3 separate regions of the Homo sapiens genome follow, and regions 1 and 3 are each linked to region 2. Evidence: promoter capture Hi-C in human tissues and cell types (Jung and others, 2019). All regions are on one chromosome and are shown on one strand. The core of a region is centred on a gene start or on the middle of the fragment in contact, and the rest is flanking DNA. Distances in the headings are between cores, read along the strand shown.

Region 1 (3,001 bases), core at 22-2,521, 560 kb after region 2:
CATATCGTGATGATCATTGGTCATTACTGGAGAGGTTTAGTAGAGCTGATGGACTTATGTAATACCGATTTGGAGCCACTAACTTAAAGTGTGTAATTTTAGGACTTTCTTAAATAGGACAAATGCTTCACATGGTTTTATGCCTCAGTGGGTGTCTCAAATATAAAGATTCTTATCCTATTGGTAGATATTTTGGTGGTTAACTTTGTTGGAAAATGCATAAGGAATTATTACATTTTATTTTTGGATACATGCTTGCATTCATTTGTATCCTATCCATAATATGGGACTGAATACAGAAAAAATCATACAGAATTTCTTGGCAGACTCCACTAGATGATTGTGCAGATCATTATTTTAAATAAGTGGACTTTAATGCATAGTTAACTGATACTTTATTCTAGGAGATTGTGATGAATTATATCTTAAAGCAATATGTAAAAGCTTAAGTGGTCGAAAGAGAAATAAATATAGCTATTTAATTAATTGTCTGCCGGACAATTGTAATGCCTCTGTCTGGTGGGTGGACAAATTGAAACAACTGATTATGCAGCATTAGTAAGTGTCTAATTGGATATGTGGGGTAGCATATTAATATAGTGGCACTTTTAGAGAGGGTGTCACTGGAAATTTGTTTTTCAAATGACCAGTCCTTATTTGTATGCTTTGAGTCCTCTAATATGTGGTTGTTTCTTAATTGTATATTTCCTTGCTTTGTATCTTTCCTTGAAAGAGGTATCTTTTATATTTATTCTGTTACCCATAGAAAATGCATAAAAAATTGAAATCCTTGGCATAAAACTTGAAGGTGCAGACTAGGTTTGATCCAGTGCTTTTCAAAGTAAGTATAAATAAATGAGGTTTCTGGTAGTCATCTTGGGAAATTATGAAAACCATCATATGCCTTCTCATGACACATCTTTTTTCTCTGTTGAAGACGCATCCTATTACACACCTTGTGAAAATGGTGTCACCTCCCTAATTGTACTCTGTAAACAAAACATCCCTTAGTTCCTGATTGTCCTGGCTTACTGTGGAGTGACAGGCTGCAATTTGCCAGTAGGTCAACCACTGAACTGATGACAAGTGACCTTTCTAACACTGCAATCAATGCTTGTTATTTGGAAAACAAAATGATACAGTTTGTATTTTTTAGCAGATGGGTCATTGGGTCAACCCACCACTGACATGTGAATTTGTTACTTGGGCTGGATGAGTCAGTTCAGACAGAAATGTTAATTTATTTGAATTGATCTGAGTCTTGCTCTTATAAAAAGGTGTTGGACATTTGTTGATGGCACAAATTATTACAAATAATTGGTTTTATACATCAGTCAAACAAAGACTTTTAGAGGGCCCACTTGATACAATAGCATTATATACTAGCTTTGGGAAGCATTCACCATAATGTATTTTCTCCACACTTGATATTTCTCAATGGTTTTGAGAAAACCCAATTTACATAAGTGATCTTGCATGTGTCATATTTAAATAGTATCTCTCCCCATGTTGCCTGAAATGTGTTTGGTGTTAGACCCCATGAAGAGTCAGGAGGATGATTAAGTTCTGGAAAAAATGCTGGGAAGAGATGAACTGTCATAAGAGATAGCCCCTGTGGTTGTCAGCGTTGTTGAATGACTGCTTCCAGCTTTCACCTGCTAGAAACATGGGAACATTGGGCATCTCTGTTGCATTTGACTTAGATGTTACTGCACATGCTTTGGCTGGTGAGTGTGAGTGAAAGTGACATGTGCTATTTTCAGGCAGAAGCTGCTAGAACCAGGATGAGAGTCAAGGTGTTCTCTCCCCTTCTTCCTGTCATGGTGACTGTGGCAGCATTGAGACGCTTTTAGCCCAGATGCCTGAGTGAGGAAGATGTAGAAATGCCTTCCCTTGCCCCTCACACATTCACACACACTCAGATGACTGCAGTGGGTGTGTGCCTGAATGAGAAATAAGCTGTGTTGTATATGCCACTGAGATTTTGGAGTTGTTGAATGGTTCTCTAACTCTTTGGTCTTAGGACTCCTTTATACTCTGTAAATGTTTTGAAAAATCCGCAGAGCTTTTGTTCAAGTGGGTAATATCTACTTCTATTTTCTGAATTAGAAATTAAAACTGAGAAAGTTTGAAAACACAAGAGTCCATAAACATCTCTTCCATTGGGCATGAGAGCAGTGGTGTAGACCTGTGAGAGTTGAGCGTGAACTGAGAATAATAAAGTCAAATAATGTCTTCTTATGATCATGAAAATAGTTTTGACCTTGTGGCCTCCCTGAAAGGGTCTCAGGGATTTCAGGGGTCTCTGGCAGATACTTTGAAAACGACTGACCTAGGCCATGCTAAGTGATGAGCATACCTCGATAAGTTACAGTTACAGGCTCAGAGAAGTTGAGAAGGAAAAGAAAGAAGGGAAAAAGATTTTGGAAGCATTGCAAAAGACTATCCCTGAGTGTTAGGGTTTTCTTTTTCTTTTTGAATAAAGTCAATATAAATAATTCATTCCTGTTTTTGAGAAGTAGTCCCTCTTTATACTAATAAATGCCTATTTTACTAGGCTATCAAATGAAATAATGCACATAAAATTATATTGTATGAAGCCACATAACTGTAAATATTAATTCTATGAAGGTTGAGATTATGAAATATTTTGCTTTGGAAAAATATGAAAGTATGAGTAGTATTCATATACTTAGAATTAGGTGTAGGCTTTCTGGATGGTAGAGGGTTGGAGAAAGTGAAATATTAAAACATATATGAGTGAGCTTATCTAAGTTCCATCAGTAGTGCTGCTTCTGGGAGTTTTAACGGTGAAATTGTCATATATATTGTAATGATGAAATAATTCCAACCCCTTTTATGAAGTGTGTAGTGACAAAATGATACAAAGGTGGCTAAACATGTTTTGAAAGACTTGAAAATTGTGCTTAATGGAAATTTCATGTGCATGGATAGCAAATCCCATAGGTGAATAGTCACATGCCTATCAATAGCCCAATTC
Region 2 (2,933 bases), core at 280-2,779:
CTGCTCTAAGAAACTGGGTGGCTTAACCAACAGAAATGTATTTTTCTCACAATTCTGGAGACTGGAAGCCTGAGATCAAGGTGTTGGTTTCTTCTGAGGCCTCTCTCCTTGGCTCGCAGGTGGCTGCCTTCTCCCTGTGTCTTCACTTGGCCTGATTGCCAAACCCAGCGCCTTCTGAGATACTGGGGGTTACAATTTCAGCATACGAAATTTGAGGGCAGGGTGAGGGGACACAGTTCAGCCCATAACACCAACAATTAACTCTGCAAACTTAAGATGTAAGTTAACTTTTTTAATTCAAGAAAAAGACAGGGAGGCCGAGGCAGGTCCACCCGCCTTGATCAGGAGGTCAAGACCATCCTGGCAAACATGGTGAAACCCCGTCTCTACTAAAAATACAAAAATTAGCTGGATATGGTGGTGGGTGCCTGTAATCCCAGCTGCTTGGGAGGCTGAAGCAGGAGAATCACTTGAACCCGGGAGGCAGAGGTTCCAGTGAGCCGAGATCGTGCCACTGCACTCCAGCTTGGACGACAAGAGCAAAAACTCCATCAAAAATAAAAGAAAAATAAATAAATAAATAAATAAAAATAAATAAAAGACAGGGAGGAGAAGAGAGAGAGAGAGAAAGAGAACGGTGTGTAGCGAGGGGGGCCTCATCATATCCTTCCAGGACAATAGGTGGCCCGCGCTTACCATACTAAGGTGGCCACTCAAGTGACTGTTCAAACACTTAAAGTGCATCCTACTAAATACAGAAGGTCTCTGTAAGACACATGAGCCCAGAGCTTCTCTGGATGAAATGGGAGTGAGGGGTTGAGATCCCCCCACAACTCCCTTCTCACTAAATCACCTCTGACAAGCACAGGATAAAAACCTTTGACCTGGAAGATTCCAGGTATCCGGGCTGCTTTTGTTATCTTTTCACAAACGCACAGTTCATCAAGGTTTGGAACAGGGACCTATGATATCATCTGATGATCTTTAGCTTTGGAGACATAACTGTCACTAGCACCCAGCCCAGTTTCACTGTAAAGTTGTCTGGCTGAGCTCCCGCAATCCTGCCAACAGTCCGTACTTGTGTGGCCTGCTCTGTTTTTCCATTTTACTTCTTTTTAGAGATGGGCTTGTTAATCACCCTGCTCAACTGTGATACCCAAGAAAAGCTGAGAGAGTAAAGTTATATGCAGCCTTCCTGTGACCTGTTTGCATGTACCCAGTCAATAAAACTCAGGCAGAGTGACAGTGACAGCTGCCTTGTGGCATTCAGAGGGATTTGAGCAGTTTAGCAGCCTCCTGGACAAGTATATCATTACAGCCCAGCTGCTAAGAAAGAAAACACCTAAACCCTGGGGAACAGGCACAGCTCCTGCAGCCACCCAGGGACCTGTCTCAGATACCTGCAAGGCCTGATCAAGACTCTCCTGGCAGCTTTCTCCACACTAGGACCTCCTAGTCACAAGTTGGTTCTCACCCTGACGCACACTCCCTGCCTGCAACAGCCTGGCTTTTAGCAGCTGAGAGGACACGGTCCCTGCCTGGGAGGTGGCAGAGGAGAGTGACTAGAAGGGAAGGTACAATGGGGGCCAGGCAGTCAAGGGCCAGCTCCAAGGATAAGGGCCCCAAGAGGATGCTGTTCACGGGGAGGAGACAGAAGTTTTCTCCGTGGGACGATGCCCTGCTCTCGGGAAGGGACCCGCGGTCCCTGCTGAAGCGGGGCATGCACCACGTCAGCTTCAGCCTGGTCACGAGAGGAATGACAGACATCCCCGACTTTCTGTGGGGCTTGTCCGAGGTCCAGAAACTCAATCTGTCTCACAACCAGCTCCGGGTTCTCCCTCCCGAGGTGGGGAAACTGACCCGGATCGTGGTCCTGAACTTGTGCGGGAACCGCCTGAAGAGCCTGCCCAGAGAAGTGAGCCTCCTACAGTGCCTCAAGGTCCTGTTTGTCAACATGAACTGCCTGACAGAGGTGCCGGCCGAGCTGAGCTTGTGCCGAAAGCTGGAGGTCCTGAGCTTGTCGCACAACTGCCTGTCCCAGCTCCCTGCATGCTTCGCCGACCTCTCTAGACTGAGGAAGCTAAACCTCAGCAACAACTTCTTCGCGCACATCCCCATGTGTGTGTTCTCCCTGAAGGAACTGATTTTCTTGCACGTGGGCTCGAATCGCCTGGAAAACATCGCTGAGAGCATCCAGCACCTGGCCAGCCTGCAGATCTTCATCGCAGAGGGCAACAACATCCACTCCTTCCCGAGGTCGCTTTGCCTGGTCACCAGCCTGGAGCTGCTGAACCTCAACAACAATGACATCCAGACCCTCCCGAGCGAACTCCACCTGCTGTGTAGACTGGTGAGGATCGCCTGGAATCCCATGGACAAAGGGCTCCACATTTCCCACAACCCTTTATCCAAGCCTCTGCCGGAGCTGGTGGAGGGGGGCCTGGAGATGCTCTTCGGCTACCTGAAGGACAAAAAACACACCTGACCTGGGTCCCGGAGGCCTGGATGGGAGGCAGCTCATCTGGACTCTGTCAACCGGGGTACTTCTCTCGTCTCAGCTTTCTACTCTCATCCTTAGTGTCTGACAATACCTTTGTTAATATTTGCTAAGTCGCTGTTGAACATCCACGTTAAGGAGGTGATTGTTTTTAACTCTGTATGTTCTTAATAACCTCTGGAATATCATGTTCATCTCATCCTAAACATAAATTGAAACAGGGGGTTGGTTTTCCCCAAAGAGAACTAACAGTTCTGATTCTTCTGAGGAGCAGTGAGATTCAGCCCTTGGGAGAGTGGACACCTAACAGGTCTGAATTCAATGTAATTCAAAAGGCAAATATTTGCTAAGTACTGTGTGCCAAGTACAGTATGAGGTGCTGAAACCTGGTTTCAGATAGTTTCTGCCCTTGAATCAGCAACCTGTGGCCAGGTGG
Region 3 (3,059 bases), core at 263-2,762, 850 kb after region 2:
CATTACACCTTTACTCAGTAGCTATCAAAATCTCTTATTTTGTCGAGTTGTCAATTTAATACTGCCCTCTGAAAGAATACTTGTAAGTGCAGAAGTATTCAAAATAAAATATCCTTGCTTCCGAATTTTACTTTTCAAATGTAACTACTATTAACAGCTAGATACACATCCTTCTAAAATTTTACAAGGTAGAAACTGTAGTGCAAATTCATTAATGAATATAAAATGGATGCAGTTTAATAAATATTATCAAACCCAGCATTTTATTACAAGAATAAAATACCATATGAGACTCCCACCTCACATCATACAAAAATAAACACCAGATTCATGATCTAAACACAAAAGTTTAGAAGAACCTTCTAAGAAAAAGGTAGGAAGACATTTTTGTTATATATTTTTCTAAGCTTGATATAAAACTCAGCAGTCATTAAAAATAAAGATTGACAGATTTGGTTATATAAAATTTTAAACTTCTGAATGATGAAAGATACCATGAAGGAGGTCTGAGTACAAACAGAAGACTTGGAGAGATTATTTTCAGCACTTACAGCAGTCAACAGGCTGGTGGCTATAATATATAGAGACCTGCTACGTAGTAATAAGAAAAAAACAAAACACTCTTTTAGGAAATAAAATGGACAAAGACACTTCAAAAAAAAATTCACCCAGCATGTAAGTATATGGTAAAGTACCTACCCAGCCTTACTAATGATTGAGAAATGGAGTATTACAAGTGATACAGAAGTTTAAATTTCTATAATATCAAGTGTTAATCAGTGATGTGGAGAAATGTGTACATGCATAGTCTGTTGATGGGAACACACATTTTGCAGTCTTTTTTTTTGTAGGCAATTAGGGAGATTCTATCAAAATGTAAACATAGTATGCCAAACCTATTTCTAGAAGTTTATTAGTAATACTCCCCAATGTACAAGGATATTTGCCCAAGTATTTTCATTGTATCCTACTAACTTTACATATCTCTAGTGAGTAAATACCAGACTCCTGGTCATGAGACTAACACATGGATTGTTTTAAAAGCTTTAGTATGTCTGAGATATTGGAAAAAGACAAAAGTAGAAAAGGTACTGTTCCTTTTCTGTTGAAGTAACTACCCCATCAGCAACCAACTATAGAAAGAATGAAATGAGTTCCAAACTTAGGGACTCAATACATGAGTGTGTGACTAGAGTATCAAGTGCAGTTTTGGTTGGGCACTTTAATCAAGTAGAATGGTCTAGATTTGCCAGCTGATTGGGACATTCAAGAGTCTAGAGTTGAAGACACCTTAATATCCTTAGCCTGGATAACTGGGCTGTTAGTCACCATCAGCTGAGATAGGTGGTTATGTAGAGGGAATGAGAATTTAGGGGCCATGTTAAGAAGTTTGTTTTCAATACTCAAGGGCTTCTGTGATCCAACCCAAATCTATATTTATAACGCCATCTCCTACTATTTTTCTTCTGGAACTCAATGAGCCATGTATATGAAATTGTCTCTTCGCCAAGAGCCTTCTGAGCCATCACACACCCTGCTTTTGCTTAGATTCATTCTGCCTGTGCCATCCCATCGCTCTCCTCCTATAGCAGCTCTGCCTATCTTTCAGTATTTTATTCAAGTACTTTACTTTTCCTTGAAATATCCTAGGTCCTTTCCTCCCCTAAAATCAGATTTAATTATTCATTCCTTTGTTTTCTCAGAATAATTGCTTAAACCTCAATTAGAGGATGGTGTTTTATGCTGGCTGGAATTACCATCAACTCACAGTCTAGAAGATTTTGATTCCCCTCTTCTATAACATGCAAGTCAAAGATTGCATGTTATTCTATCTTGGTTTCCCATGAATCTCTCAGTTTAGAATTTGAGGCTTTAAGTAGAGAAAGGGAAGACAATTTTGGAAGATTTCAGGCACTTACCTGCAAATCAGAAATCATCCAATAGAAGCAACAGTTTACTCCATCTCACCCAAATCTAACCCTCACACATGATGTTGAGATCTCAGTTTGCTTTTGACATGGCACCTCCCATAAAATTACTTACATCCAACACTGCTGCAGCAACGTTTTTTACAGAGGCTTCATTACAGTTTCCTGGACCTTCAGCCAGGGACAGAGTACAAGTACAGAAGCTTCCAGACTTCCTTCTTGTAGTTTGCTGCTGTACTGAAGTACTTAACAGGCACTTAATAAGCATGTATTGAATGAACAAGTGGAAAAGTAAAGCTGAAACCATATGGACATTTGAGTTTGAGCATGGGAGTATATTTTGGTGCCCTTTAGAGCAGCTGCTGAGGTTGGTGAATGTCTACCATCAGCTCTGTGGCAGGCAGTGGGGTTGTAGAGTTAGAGTGCCCCTGCTGCCGAGAAGCTTTTCTCATTCTGATATTCAGACTCCAGGGCTCTGTGGATGGGTCTGAGATGGGGAAACCCATCACCTTTGTGACATTTGGTGGACATATACATGCCCAACATATTTGTTTGTTAGGCGTGAGGGAGAGGATCTGTAATTTTTAGGAGTGCATGAATTAGTGTATACATGTGTTTTTTAGAAGTAGGAAAGAGAAGGTGTCTAATTTTTACCAAATTGTCAAAGGGCTATGACTGGAAGCCAGCTAAGAACCCCAGTGTTATTTTGCAGCCACAAGGCTTTCAGCAAGTCCAAGCCCATCAGCCCTGCTGGAACAACAAGTCCCTTAGTAAAGCGTTTGCTTGATAGTCTCTGTGGGTGGAGCAAAGATCCCACTTGTCTTGAGTGTTTACATGAGCGGATGCACACACCCGCTCTCCCCAGGAGTAGTTTTAGGAAAATAGATACTGAGTGCCAAATATTTACTGATCACAGTGGGATCAGGAAAAGAATAAGACATCAGTCACTCCTCAGAAAGAAGATACAATTACATGAAATGTTCCAATTCCTCTGGTATATTTAAATCATGATTTAAGATCAAAGAAGAGATTTCACAGTACTCCAAGATTCATTGCCCAGTGAATTGTATGAATAGTCACAACACAGGCATTCAGTGGATCTAGTGATTGTTAGGCCAGGTTTAGGAAGGC

What was found. The method cuts DNA at HindIII sites, captures the fragments that hold promoters and counts their contacts. A contact is called where the count stands out against the background at its distance.
Region 1: a fragment that was not itself captured here is called in contact with the fragment with the promoter of LRRC30 in region 2 in 1 of the 25 tissues and cell types used here (H1 embryonic stem cells).
Region 3: a fragment that was not itself captured here is called in contact with the fragment with the promoter of LRRC30 in region 2 in 2 of the 25 tissues and cell types used here (dorsolateral prefrontal cortex and lymphoblastoid cells).

Annotation. Positions count from the first base shown.
Region 1 is chr18:7,785,731-7,788,731 of GRCh38, forward strand. All of the region lies in intron 2 of PTPRM (protein tyrosine phosphatase receptor type M), which reads left to right. Among named protein-coding and RNA genes, the nearest start is that of PTPRM, 220 kb to the left of the region's middle. The HindIII fragment of the contact is 4,887 bases long and covers 1-3,001 here.
Region 2 is chr18:7,229,560-7,232,492 of GRCh38, forward strand. It overlaps LRRC30 (leucine rich repeat containing 30), which reads left to right and starts at 1,530. Exons shown (of 1, transcript NM_001105581.3): 1 at 1,530-2,485. The coding sequence starts at 1,580. The coding sequence ends at 2,485. The HindIII fragment of the contact is 10,232 bases long and covers 1-2,933 here.
Region 3 is chr18:8,079,328-8,082,386 of GRCh38, forward strand. All of the region lies in intron 9 of PTPRM (protein tyrosine phosphatase receptor type M), which reads left to right. Among named protein-coding and RNA genes, the nearest start is that of PTPRM, 510 kb to the left of the region's middle. The HindIII fragment of the contact is 3,817 bases long and covers 1-3,059 here.